3 separate regions of the Homo sapiens genome follow, and all the other regions are linked to region 3. The links are contacts of gene promoters, found by promoter capture Hi-C in blood cells and fetal thymus (Javierre and others, 2016). All regions are on one chromosome and are shown on one strand. The core of a region is centred on a gene start or on the middle of the fragment in contact, and the rest is flanking DNA. Distances in the headings are between cores, read along the strand shown. Region 1 overlaps ABCA13 (ATP binding cassette subfamily A member 13). Region 2 overlaps ABCA13 (ATP binding cassette subfamily A member 13). Region 3 holds the start of VWC2 (von Willebrand factor C domain containing 2).

What was found. The method cuts DNA at HindIII sites, captures the fragments that hold promoters and counts their contacts. A CHiCAGO score of 5 or more calls a contact.
Region 1: a contact is called between a fragment that was not itself captured here and the fragment with the promoter of VWC2 in region 3, in 1 of 17 cell types (M2 macrophages). The highest score is 7.3, in M2 macrophages.
Region 2: a fragment that was not itself captured here is called in contact with the fragment with the promoter of VWC2 in region 3 in 1 of 17 cell types (M0 macrophages); the score reaches 5.3 in M0 macrophages.

What each region holds. Positions count from the first base shown.
Region 1 is chr7:48,284,884-48,289,280 of GRCh38, forward strand. ABCA13 (ATP binding cassette subfamily A member 13) reads left to right here. Exons shown (of 62, transcript NM_152701.5): 20 at 3,077-3,195. Among named protein-coding and RNA genes, the nearest start is that of ABCA13, 120 kb to the left of the region's middle. The HindIII fragment of the contact is 4,638 bases long and covers 1-4,030 here.
Region 2 is chr7:48,308,185-48,312,259 of GRCh38, forward strand. It overlaps ABCA13 (ATP binding cassette subfamily A member 13), which reads left to right. Exons shown (of 62, transcript NM_152701.5): 24 at 1,763-1,957. Among named protein-coding and RNA genes, the nearest start is that of ABCA13, 140 kb to the left of the region's middle. The HindIII fragment of the contact is 1,428 bases long and covers 1,288-2,715 here.
Region 3 is chr7:49,770,563-49,775,123 of GRCh38, forward strand. VWC2 (von Willebrand factor C domain containing 2) reads left to right here and starts at 3,076. Exons shown (of 4, transcript NM_198570.5): 1 at 3,076-3,551. The HindIII fragment of the contact is 1,969 bases long and covers 2,290-4,258 here.

The DNA of each region.
Region 1 (4,397 bases), core at 462-2,961, 1.5 Mb before region 3:
ATAGCCCCTCCTCTCCCATCATATAAAGGGAACAAGAATAAGATCTGTTATTATTATTGTTGCTGAAAATGCACTATATTTTCGTCATATCACAGAGTTGAGTTCAGTATCTCCAGGAGGAAAGTGACAACTTTCCTTCTCCTGATCTAGTGCTTTAAAGATGCCAAGGACAATGCAGGAGAGCTCATGCAACGGAAGGAGCCTCAGTGGGCAGCTACTTTAATCTTCCAGTTTCCCTAATTGACGAATTGAGGCCCAGAGAGTGAGAGTGAGTTTCCCAGGGTTTCAGAGTGAAGCAGTCAGAGCCCATTTCCAGTTGAAGAGACCTGAGAGGGTCCATGGGGCTGAAGGGAGGAGAGGAAAGGGGTCCAGAGAGCGCTGGCAGATCTGGAAAGCCAGAGTGGGTCTGAATGTGTCCTTGGAGCCAAGAAGAGGGGCCACAGCAAGTAGGAAGGGCTGGAGCCAGGGATTGGGAGAGGCAATGAGAGGTGGAGAAAGAGGGTACCCGGGAAAGTTGGAGGAGTCAAGGCTCAAAACCAGCTCTTGTTAGTGTCGAGACAGTTGTCAAGTGTCCTTGAGGGTGGTGCCTTTGAGGGCAGGCTTCAAGACGTGTTAGATGTGAGGCACATGGAGGCCAGATGGCCTGACAGCCCAGCACTGCATCCCATGATCATATCATCCCTGACCTAACCTTGCAGGAATGCTGGGCTTGGTCACTGTCGACTCCACGTTGTCATTTTACATTGAGGAAGCAAGGGGCTGACACAGCCCACAGCTTGCCTGATGCCATACATTACATCAGCTTTTTCAGGGTGCATTCTCTGCTCTTTTAGGTTTGAACAACATAACTTATAAACACATTATTGTGTCTTCCCGAGACCAGAGGATATGTTTATGCTTAAAGATAAGTGCTGTGATATATAACAGCACATTATTACCTTCATTTCAAATTTTAATAAGAGATTACTTAAGTGACACATTTTATATTTCCTACAATAAAGATACCTGTCTTTGAAATTAGTAAAATAAGATTAATGAGAAAAGAAAAACAAATAAGGCATCAAGGTGGGTTGCTTCTGGAAAGCATGACTTTGGATATATTGTGTCTACTCTGCATTTTATGTGGTTGAAAACTGTTTTAGTAATTAATAAATTTTATATTTTAGAGTAGTTTTAGATTCGCAGCAACCTTGAATGGAAGGTGCAGGGATTTCCCATATACTCCCTTCCCCACCATAGCCTCCCTCATTATCAGAGTGGCACATTTGTTACAATTGATGAACCCACACTGACACAGCATCATTCCGAGTCCACAGTTCACATTGGGCTTCACTCTTGGTGTTGTCATTCTATGGGTTAGGACAAGCATATAATGACATACATCCAGTGTTACAGTATCACACACAGGGTTTTACTGCCTGAAAAATCCTCTGTGCTCTGCCCATTCATCTCTCCCACCCCTCTAGCCCCTAGCAACCACGGATCTTTTTACTGTCTCCATAGTTTTTGTCTTTTCCAGCACGTCATTGAGTTGAAATCATACAATATGTAGCCTTTTCAGATGGGCTTCTTTCACTTAGTAATATGCTGGAACTGTTTTTTCCCTTCCTTCCTTCCTTCCTTCCTTCCTTCCTTTTTTCAGACAGAGTCTCGCTCTGTCGCCCAGGCTGGAGTGCAGTGGTGCGACCTCAGCTCATTGCAACCTCTACCTCCTGGGTTCAAGCAATTCTCATGCCTCAGCCTCCTGAGTAGCTGGGATTACAGGTGCCCGCCACCATGCCCGGTTAATTTTTGTATTTTTAGTAGAGACGGGGTTTTACCACATTGGCCAGGATGGTCTCGATCTCCTGACCTCGTGATCTGCCCAACACGGCCTCCCAAAGTGCTGGGATTACAGGCGTGAGCCACCGTGCCTGGCTCAGAACTTTTTATAAAGGACTTTTGAGAAACAATTTATTATTCATAATTTAAGAGTCAGGATAACATTTTTTTTTCTAATTAAAAAAAGATTTTATTTCTTATAAAAATGTATTTTATTTTCTGTCATGACCAAGCATCTAGGAGGTACAAAGCCCTGTGCTAGGTGCCACAATGACAGGAAGGCAGTGATAAGAAAATTTGCCCGTGGCAGGTCTTGTGCAGATGGATTTATCGTGCGGTGGGAGGTGAGCACACAGGCATCTGCGCAGCAGGGAGGGGAGGGGCTTTGCTCAGCCTGGGAAAGGTGGGTGTCTGGAGGCAGAACTCTAAAAGATACGTAGGTTCAGGAAGGGAGAGTGATGCCTTGTATCTGATGGCCTTGAGGAGACAGGAGGGACATAGGGCATGACTGCAGAGAGGTGGAGGCACCTGAGGCTGCGGAAAGACATTGGATGCAACATGGAGCCTTTGCACAGATTCCTGTAATGGGGGATCTCCTTTGGGGAAGAGCCTTGTGGATCAGAGCGTAAGGCAGATTGGAAGGGTGAGGTGGGAGTGGGACTGTTAAGAGCACAGCAGTTTCCTGGGCGTGATCTATGGGTGCTGGACAGACGCACAGATGGAGAGACATTGGGAGGTCATGCTGAGCAGATGGGGAGGTTGGTTGGCTGTGAGGACCAGGGGGAGGAGAGTCATGACTGGCTTCCAGGAAGTGACTTGTGAGGCATGGGGCATGGAGAAGACCACACATAGACAGTGTGTAATTCATCCTTCAAACTGGGGCACTTTTGAGAATGACAGAGGGCACTGTTCATAACCATGCAAGAATAGGTGAAAAGCAAGTCTGTCCTGGGCAAACTGGGGTGAATGGGTACCCCACTTGTAGGGGATACAGGGAAAGGAGCCAGTTTGAGGAGGTAGAGATAATTAATATTTACAAAATCAATTAGGCCCAGAAAAGCAAAATCTTTATTTTATTACATTTGGAACTCAAAAGGCACAGCTTTACCCTCATCATCTGAATGTTCATCTTGATGATTTAAGAAATGTTTAGGAATTTGTATCACTTTGAATCTTTAAAAAGTGATTTTGTGAGAGTGGCTAGTTCAGGAGAGGACTGTCTATTAATTATTTCTCTGTGTGTTTCCTCTGGCAGAAAACCCTTCCTGGACCAAGGACATTTTGTGTGCTACTCTGAGTTGCAAGCAAAATGGGATAAGGCATCTCATTTTATCTGCTATACAAGGGGTCACTTTGGCGCAGGACCACTTCCAGGTTTGTCGTCTTTAATATTTCAGAGAATTTCATGTTCATGACTATTGGCCCTTGCAAGGCAGTCCAGTTATTCAAACTTGCTGCTTCGTTCTTATAACTACAGCAATGGTGTCATACACAGTCTTGTTGCAAGCTGGGCTTGCAGAATGACTGCTCACCCTTCCTCCCTCTTGGCCTCTCCCAGTGGTGTGCTGGGTTGAGTGGCACTGAGTTGAGAGATCGGATTGTTAAATTTTCAGGAATTTTGCAAGCTGGTTGTTAAACATAGATGTCATCATTATAAATAAATTATATAAACTTATGATGAAATAAATCATGTTAGAAACACAAGTAATAATTACTCAAGATTCATCACTTCCTAATTATTTTAGTATGTTTTACTGTTATCTCTCTTCCTGAGATGATTTGCTTTTGTTGTATCCACATGATGGAAATACTATGTAGTCTTGTGCTAAGTGCAGTTCTTCCCTTCTCTACGTTTAATGACGTTATGGTGGCAGCATGAACTGGGCCATGCAGGAGCTTTTGCACCATGGAAATTGGCAAGTGCTCCAAATCAGAATTTTTTTTTTCTGGAGAGTTAGTTTTTAAATATTTACCAGCCCAACACTGGCTCTAACTCATTGAATACACTGGCTAGTACCAAAAATTGATGGCTGAATGGGAACCAGCATAGCAATTTCCTTTTTATTAAATTGGACACATGCCCAATAGGCTCCCATGCAGGGTCTCCAACTATAGCTGAATCAGACAATGTGTCTCTTATTTGGGCCCCACTCCTTTGTCCTAGAATTAAAGACCCCTGGGCCCCTAGGTAGGCCTGATCCCCCTGACAAGCTTGGACAATGGTGATGTCCTTCCAACAATGCAGTGAAGACCTGTCTCTCTTCTAGTTCTGGTTCTGAATGTTGTTTCTTGCTTTTGTGATCCATATTATCTGTGAGTATGAGATTATCACAGAAAGCAGAGAAATAGATGATGCCGAGAGAGATGAGAGATAGCCATGCCAGACTCCCACAGCATGGCAAGGGTGTCGAATGCCATGCCTTGGTGAAGTGTCAGGAGGGAGTGAGAGCTGCTGATCTCTAATCAATGTCTTGTGGCCTTTGGAGGAGTGGTGCCTGTCAGCAGGAAGCCCTGAGCAGTCCCTAGCAATGATTGACTTTACAACCCCAAATTTACATTGATTTTTTTAGAACATC
Region 2 (4,075 bases), core at 752-3,251, 1.5 Mb before region 3:
CTACATGAGGTCAGGATCATGAATACCACTGTCTTCCACTTCCACAGCTTGTCCCACTGGGCGGTCTTCAGGGGCAATAACATGCGTAGAGCTGTCGTCTCCTGTGATAACAATGCCTTCTTCTGGATACCTCCTGAGGGACTTGCCTGTGGCTGTTTTACAGTTAAATTTTTTTTAATAACTAGAAAGAGTATACTCTAAAATAATGATAATATAGTATAGTTAGTACATAAACCAGTAATATAGTCATTTATTATCCTTGTCACTATTATGTACTGTACATAATTGTGTGTGTGATACTTTTGCTATGAATGGGAGTGCAGCAGTTTTGTTTACACCGGCACTGCCACAAACACTTGAATAATACGCCAGGCTACAACACTACAATGGCTGATGTCACTAGAAGATAGGAATTTTTTCATCTCCATTATAATCATATTTTTCATCTCCATTATAATCTTATGGGACTACCACCGTATATGTGGTTTGTCATCATGTACCAGATAGCGATATTTTGGTCAACAATGGACCCCATATAGGATGGTGGTCCCATGAGATTATACTACTGTATTTTTACTGTACCTTTTTACTGTACCTTTTCTATGTTTAGATATGTTCAGCCACACAAATACTTACCACTGTGTGACAACTGCCTACAGGATTCAGTACAGTGACACGCTGTACAGGTTTGTAGTCTAGGAGCAATAGACCATACCCTATAGCCAAGGTATGTAGGAGGCTGTATCATCTAGGATGCTGTAAGTGCACACTATGATGTTCACACAATTAAACAATTACCCAATGGTGCATTTCCCAAATGTATCCTTGTCATTATGAGACACATGACTGCACACACACACACACACACACACACACACACATTCTCTTGGTTCTGTTTCTCTGGAGGACCCTGACTACTACACCATTATTTATATCTTACTGTATTTTGGGAACATTTTATGGCATCTGTTGAGTTCTCCGTGCTCTTCTTCAGAGAGCATGGTTCCTATTCACATAGGTTCATGCACTTCGGCCTCAGTTGGCCTGAATGTTTCACAGCAATCATACCCATCAGGAGCAAAAACATGGAGCAGGAAGTATGGTTTTTGTTTTATTTTGCTTTGTAATTTGGCATATCACAAATGTCCTTAACTGAAAAGCATACCCAAATGAAGAGGTGTGTCAAAGCCTTTAATTGCGATGCATGATAGTAATAAACTAGAGACTAATATAAGTTGTCCTCAGTGCCTCCTTCTGAGTGTACTTGCTTTAAAAAAATATATAACAAGCTTGGTAATCCTGTTTTCAATCTAAAAATGAAGGAGCAAAAAATATCAGCTTCACACTGATGACGGTGAAAAGTGGAAGCTGATAAACTGAAAGCCAAGGGTAAGACTTAATATCAGACAAACGAGACACAGATGCTAACTACGGGGGTGGCATCGGAGGGTGGGGGCTTGGTGGGCATTCAGAGTGAGCCTCGTGGAGAGCAGAGGGACAGAGTTTCAGAAGGGTGATCCAAAGACCTCAAGCGAGGGCAAATTTTATAAGAAGTCAGAGAATGATGTGCGCACTTCAGAAACATTTCCATCAAAATGTTGAGAATCGAACCCCAGTTTGGGCTCCCCGCATCTGCAGGTCAGTCCCGGGAGTTGGGAAATCCACTCTTGGGCGACTCCCTGCCGATGAAGCTCCGGTCTGAGGTGGTGAAGCACATGACGTCATAGGTATACTCACCTCTAATCTCTGTGCTTTGAAACAGGTTCTCTTCAGTGCCCTCACCGTAGCTCTGTCTGGAAAGTGTGATCAGGAAATCCTTCATCTCCTGCTGACATTTCCCAAAGGGGAAAAATCTTGGATCGCAGCGGAGGAACTCTGTAGCCTGCCAGGGTCAAAAGTGTATTCTCTGATTGTGTTGCTGAGTCGAAACTTGGATGTGCGAGCTTTCATTTACAAGGTATGGAGAGCATGCTGGCTGGGGGCAGTCCTCTGCAGGACTCTGCTGTGGTGGCTGCAGATAAGTACAGTAGTCCTAGGGGTGCGGCAGTGGGAGATCAGCACCTGGCCACTCTGCAGTGGTCTCCACCAGCCTCTGGTGTCACCTGTTTGCTGAATCCAAGGTGGGGCTCAAGAAGACTTTGTTGTAATAAAGGGATGTTCAGGAGACCCTTCAGGGGGTCCTTGGAAATAAGTGTCAGGGCATTGGGACAGAGTTGGTGGTGATCTCCATGCTCATTGTGGAAGGACCCACTGCAAAAACACAGCACCGCTTCCTAATGCCAGGTGTTCTCTCCTCTGTAAGGGCCACCTCCCTGGAGCATGTTTGAGGAGGCTGGGATTGTGCATGGTCCACTCCTGAGCGGCCCGAGTTAGGTGCTGCTCCCTGCACGGTGGCCCTATCTGTCAGCGGGAAGCATCCAGCTCTGCCAGGGCCTGCCCTGGAGAGAATGTGGAGGGGTGGGCAGCACAGGAAGCCCAATCCCCTGTGTGTGCCGGCTCTGACAAGCATGATCCTCTGACAAGCAGCAGTGTGAGGGCAGGGAGGGACTGGAGGAAGCTAAAGATGATGAAGTCTGCAGGAGAGAGTGGAGAGTGGGAAGTGAGGAGGAGCTGGGGCAAGCCCAGGCCCAGCACTTTCCGGACGGGCCCAGAACCCATGTAGGGGCAACCTAGCTCCAAACCACAGCTCACTGCTCTCAAGCTGCCCCTTCCAGAAGCTTCTCCTCCTTCTGGCCTCTACTGTTTGAATCTTTACTTAAGTTTCCAGAAGCTTCCCCTCCTTCTGGCCTCTACTGTTTGAATCTTTACTTAAGTTTCCAGAAGCTTCCCCTCTTACCCTTAGGCACTGATCTTGCTCCAAGTACCATTGTTTTCCCTTTAGGGAAGTATTTCACAACCTCTGGGTTCATTAGAGAGGCTGCAGGGTTTGTACTATGGTAAGGTGGCTGTAGGCACCCTGAGTTTGGGTGAACAGTTTTATAGTCAGCAAAGGGTAGATTTGCCATTTCAGCCACGCATGATTTCCTTAGTTTCTATTACTTCAAGAGTCCAGGGAGTAAATGTTGGAATGAACACACACACACCCACACACACACACTCCAAGAACAAATATTTGTTTTCAGAATGATTACATTTTAAACCCATAAGGAGGAGAATAAACATTTCTTGCATCCCCATAATTTGCAAACCCACCTCTATCTTGGTGGAATTCGTATTTTTCGCTAACATGCTTATGGTTTAGCTCTGCATTTGCTCACCACAGCCTCTCTTCCAACTTTACAGTTTGCCTTTTGGGAAACAGAGCTCCCATTGGCACGATGCTACTTTAGTGGCCACTTTGTTATGTGCACAAAGGTCCCCGATTTGAAGTAAGTGCTTGTAGAGGCCCACATAATTACTGTGACAAGGGCCATCATCTGTACCAAGATTTCTTTGAAGGATAAGATAGTGGGTTGGATTCAGTCTCCCAGACACAATGAAAATGACATCATCATTAATAACAACAGCTCTTATTTATCAGGTACCTTCTATATGAAGGGCTCTATGAAAGTTGATTAAATACAAGATATGGCTCAGGATGTTAGGGCAGCCCGACCTCCATGTGAGGGCCACGTGCAGGTGCAGCTCATTCCCAAGTCCATGTACTTTCTGATTCACTCAGCTGACAATGAATTTCTGAAGCCTTCAGCAAAGCACAGTTTGCTATATTAATTCGGCACATCAATCTGGTCTCTTGGAGCTGCGCTGGATCCCTGTCACTCCCCACCATAAGTCAGGGGCCAGTCACTGTGTGCCACTTTTTTTTAAAGGGCAGCTGCAATTAGAAAGATGAGTAGAAGAAGTGACAAAAGCTACACACCATTTCTCCTGCTAGAGTTGTCTCTATAGTATGAATGGACAGAATTCTGTCATTATAAGCAGAGTGCCTCTGTGAAGGATGGAGCTGTGATCCCGGAGCCCTGAAAGTCATCTGCAGAGCTAACAGCTAAAACACTAATGAGCAAAAATAAGAAGCAGTGACAACTGGGTTCCTCTGCCCCAGCCTGGAAAACAGAAAATTCAATATCCAAATGAC
Region 3 (4,561 bases), core at 1,826-4,325:
AGAGCCTGTAACACTGAGTGACTTGTTCAAAGTTGCAAAACTGGCCCCTGGTGGAACTTGGATTACACTCATGTCACTTCAGTCCCTGACCAGAGATCTTTCTGCTCCTGCCTTGCACTCTAGCCTGGAAAAAAGGAAAGGATGGAAAAGTAAAGAGGAAGGGAAAAGCAAAAGGGAAGGGGAAGAACAAGGGGAAGTGGAGAGAAAGAGAAGGGAAAGGGAAGGGAAGGAGAGAGGAAGGGAGGGGAGGGGAGGGGAAGGGAGGGGAGGGGAGGGGAAGGGAGGGGAGGGGGAGGGGAGGGAAGTGAAGGGAAGGGAAGGGAAAAAGGGGGGATGGGAAGAGAAGGGAAAGGAAAGCAAGGAAAAGGAAAATAAGTGGAAAGGAAGAAAGGAAAGAGGGAGGGAGGGAATAAAGGAAAGAAGGAAAGAAATGAGGGAGAGAAAGAGGAAAAGGAGAGAGACGGAGGAGGGAGGGAGAAAGGGGAGAAGGAGGGCAAAGGGAAGGAAGGAAGGAAAGAAAGGAACAAAGAAGGAAGGAAAGAAGAAAAGTTAATCGCAACAATTCATTGCACTGGCAATAAATAAATTGTATATTCCTTCAACGCCTGCAAAGTCCCCTATATTTTCTCGAATTACTCAGCTCATCAAGCTGCATGGGTATTGCTCTTCTTCACAAAGGACAGCAATCCCTTGGAAACTGCTTTCCTCCCTCATTCTATCAGGCCTGTAACACTATCTCTGAGAATATCTAACAGAACAAAGCCATTTGGACACTTGGTCACTTAATTCATCCTCAGTTTTGTCAGGCCTCTTCTTGAAAACTTGGCTATCTCATATTCATGGCTCTCTACTGGAAGCAGCTGGCTGGGACAAGAAGTTTCTGATTCAGAGAGACCGGTGATTGAGGTGGGATTAATAAAGGGACATCATTATTTCCTCAGCTGAGCCCCCAATCAATTTTTCAGTTAGAATCCTGGACACATAATGTTACTGTTTCGTTCTTATTAGTCACATGTGTTTGGGGCTACCCCATCGTAACCACATGAGAGTACTGTTGGCAAAACAAAACAAACAGGATGTTTAATGACAAGAACAGAATTAGCTAATAAGTCAAATAACAAAATTTGTAGCCTAACCAATGCTATAAAAGCACTTGATTTTATAGAACCGAGGGCCCATTTTGCACATTACATATGATCACACCTCGAGCCGTGTTTTTATTTTGGTGGTGTTGTGAAAGGTGTGATATTTGGATTAGAGCATCATAAAGACACAGAAGCCATAACTGATTAGAGCATGTGATGAGAGGCAGGTGGGTGGGTAGGCAGCTGCAGCCACAGCAAATGTGGCCTGTCTCTTTTCTGAGGGTAACAAGAAACGAAAGGGCCGAGTGTGGTGGCTCACACCTGTAATCCCAGCACTTTGAGAGGCCGGGTGGATCATTTGAGGCCAGGAGTTCAAGACAAGCCTGGGCAACAAAGCAAGATCCCATCTCTACCAAAAAAAAAAAACAAAAAAAAAACAAAAGAAAAAACCTAAACGAAACAAAACAAAACAAACAAACAAAAAATTAGCCCTGTGTGGTGACCTGTACACCCAGCTCCTCCGGAGTCTGAGGCAGGAGTTTGAGGCTGCAGTGGGCCGTGATCATGCCACTGCACTGAAGCCTGGGTGACAAAGTGAGATCGTGTCTCTAAAACATTAAAAAAAAAAAAAAAAGGAAAAATGAGAGTGAGAACTGAAACAGCAGAAGGGCTCAAATCATCCTGTACATAGAAATCCTCCATCCAGGCCAGGCGCGGTGGCTCACCAGCATTTTGGGAGACCGAGGCAGGAGGATCACGAGGTCCGGAGATCGAGACCATCATGTCCAACATGGTGAAACCCCGTCTCACTAAAAATACAAAAACAAAATTAGCTGGGGGTGATGGCGGACGACTGTAGTCCCAGCTACTCAGGAGGCTGAGGCGGCAGAAAGGCATGAACCCGGGAATCGAGCTTGCAGTAAGTGGAGATCGCGCCACTGCGCTCCAGGCTAGGCCACAGAGCGAGACTCCGTCTGAAAAAAAAAAAAAAGAGAGAGAGAGAGAGAAAGAAATCCTCCATCCAGCCCTGTTGGTTGTGTATGTGTTGGAGGGGGTGGAGGGGCAGCCTTCTCAGGCTTTCAAGGAGGGCTCCCTAGCACCTCAGCTAAGATTTGTTTGTCTATACTATTAAAAGATAGACATAACTGTGTCCCAAACCAGCCTCCCCAGTTCCCACCAGCCAGAGCGCCTGACCTTGCAGGGAAGCTTATCTGTTTACCGTCCGAGCACTTTCAGGGATTCTAAAATGCCGTGAGTGGGAACCACTGCCATGGGCCATTTCCATGAAAATTCAATTTCGGGGATTAATTTGAACAGGTACTATTGACGTTTTCTCGTTTACACAAGATCAAAGAGTAAAAACAACCGGGCCTCTGCTTAACAGTTGAGGATTCTAGCAAAGTTAGGAAACAGGTTTCTATTTGTAGTAGAAGAGAGAGCAGGCAGAAAGAGGAAGATGGGAGCGGGGAGAGATTGGCAGAGATTCAGAAAGTTCGCGCTTGAGATTTTTACGTTTCTTACTCGTAAACGTCTATTTCTCTGGGTTTCTGAATGCAAAGACGAGAAAGTCTCAACAGTCTGCTAAACTAACACGGCCTTCGAATCCCAATCTGAACACAGTAGCTGAAACAAGCTGTCCACAAAGAGGAAAGCCAGAGGGGGCCAATTAGGAAGGAAGAAATTAAAGAAAAGAGAAAAGCCAAGATGAAAGGTCCAGCGCAAAGTGAATGACTCGACTGGAGAATGGCAGCCCTGGCAGGGTCTGCGGCCGGCTGCGGAGGTGGGGACGCGGCCGCGCGGACGAGTGACAGGTTGGTCCGGCGCAGCAAAGGGAGCGGGTGCGGCGGTAGGGCCTCTCCGGGGGCAGCGCGAGGGCCTCCCCCGGGGCAGCGCGGGCCAAGGCGGGGCCTCCAGAGCGGGGGCAGCAGAGGAGGGAGCGGAACGGGAGCCGGGCGGAGGCGGCTGCGGCAGGGGGAGGCGGGAGGCGGGCGCGCTAGCTCCCATGCTGGCCTCGGTGCCACTCGCGCGCCGGCCGCGCTCCGGGCTTCTCTTTTCCCTCCGACGCGCCACGGCTGCCCAGACATTCCGGCTGCCGGGTCTGGAGAGCTCCCCGAACCCCTCCGCGGAGAGGAGCGAGGCGGCGCCAGGGTGGCCCCCGGGGCGCGCTTGGTCTCGGAGAAGCGGGGACGAGGCCGGAGGATGAGCGACTGAGGGCGACGCGGGCACTGACGCGAGTTGGGGCCGCGACTACCGGCAGCTGACAGCGCGATGAGCGACTCCCCAGAGACGCCCTAGCCCGGTGTGCGCGCCAGGCGGAGCGCGCAGGTGGGGCTGGGCTGTTAGTGGTCCGCCCCACGCGGGTCGCCGGCCGGCCCAGGATGGGCGCTGGCAACCCGGGCCCGCGCCCGCCGCTGCTACCCCTGCGCCCGCTGCGAGCCCGGCGTCCGGCCCGCGCCCTGCGCTCATGTATGTAGGTTTGGCGCCGGTCTTCAGGGCTGAGGGTGCATGCTGGGTGTCCCCGCGCGGCCGGACGCGCTCCAGCTGGGTTCAGCCGCTCAGCTGCTCCGGAGGAACCCCCTCCCCCGCCCAAGTTTGTGAATATGGGCGCTTCGCCCAGTGTTGAGGTCGGCAGGGACCGGGCAGGGGGTCAGCAGGGCCGGGCACGTCCGGAGCCCTCAGGGAGGAGGGCTGAGGGGGAGGGGACAGACGCACCGGAGTGCGCAGAGTGGGGGCGTTCGGGGAGTGAGGCGGAGAGAGGCTGGATTGCCGGTGTCCTGCGGCGTCTCGGGCTCTCCCAGCCCCTTTGGGCGGCAGAAACTTTGGAATCCAGAAAGGCTGGCCGGGATCCAGCGAGTAGGAGGGTCTCGCGCCCACTCTGCGCCCTGGGGCCCCAGCCTCCCGCACTGCACACCTTGGTGCTGCCCGGGCGCTTCTGCTCCGCAGCCAGGACACTACAAGACTGAGCGCTGCGGCCGGCGACCTGGCTCCCAAGGCTCGGAGGGGCGGGCCGGCAGAGGAGCTGAAGCCCCGGGAATCCCCGACCCGGCCCTCTGGCAAGGGGCCGAGGGCATCCTTTCATGCAGCGGGGCTTAGAGAGCGGGGAGGGGGCGTCTGCTCCCGAGACGGGAGTCTTTTAAGAAGTTGTTAGAAATGAATCGTGGAGTCCTAGGAGAAGCTTTGTTTAACCTCCCCGCATTTTCCCAGCACAACCCCCTAAAGCAAATGAGGAAGAGTTTCCCTCTTATCTTCCTGTACATTCGTCCGTCTCTAACTCCACTGCTGAATTCTCCATTTAATAACCTTCGGGAAATGTGGCCAGGACCTAGGGAGGGACACCCTGGGTGCCTGAATTACGTGGTTCAAGGCAGAGCTTTGCAGGGGGGCGCGGGCCTGGCTCGCTGCGTTCCCTGGGCTCCGCAAGCCGCCCTTGGCCATCTCCAACACTAATCACGACTACATCAGAAACACGCCGGCCG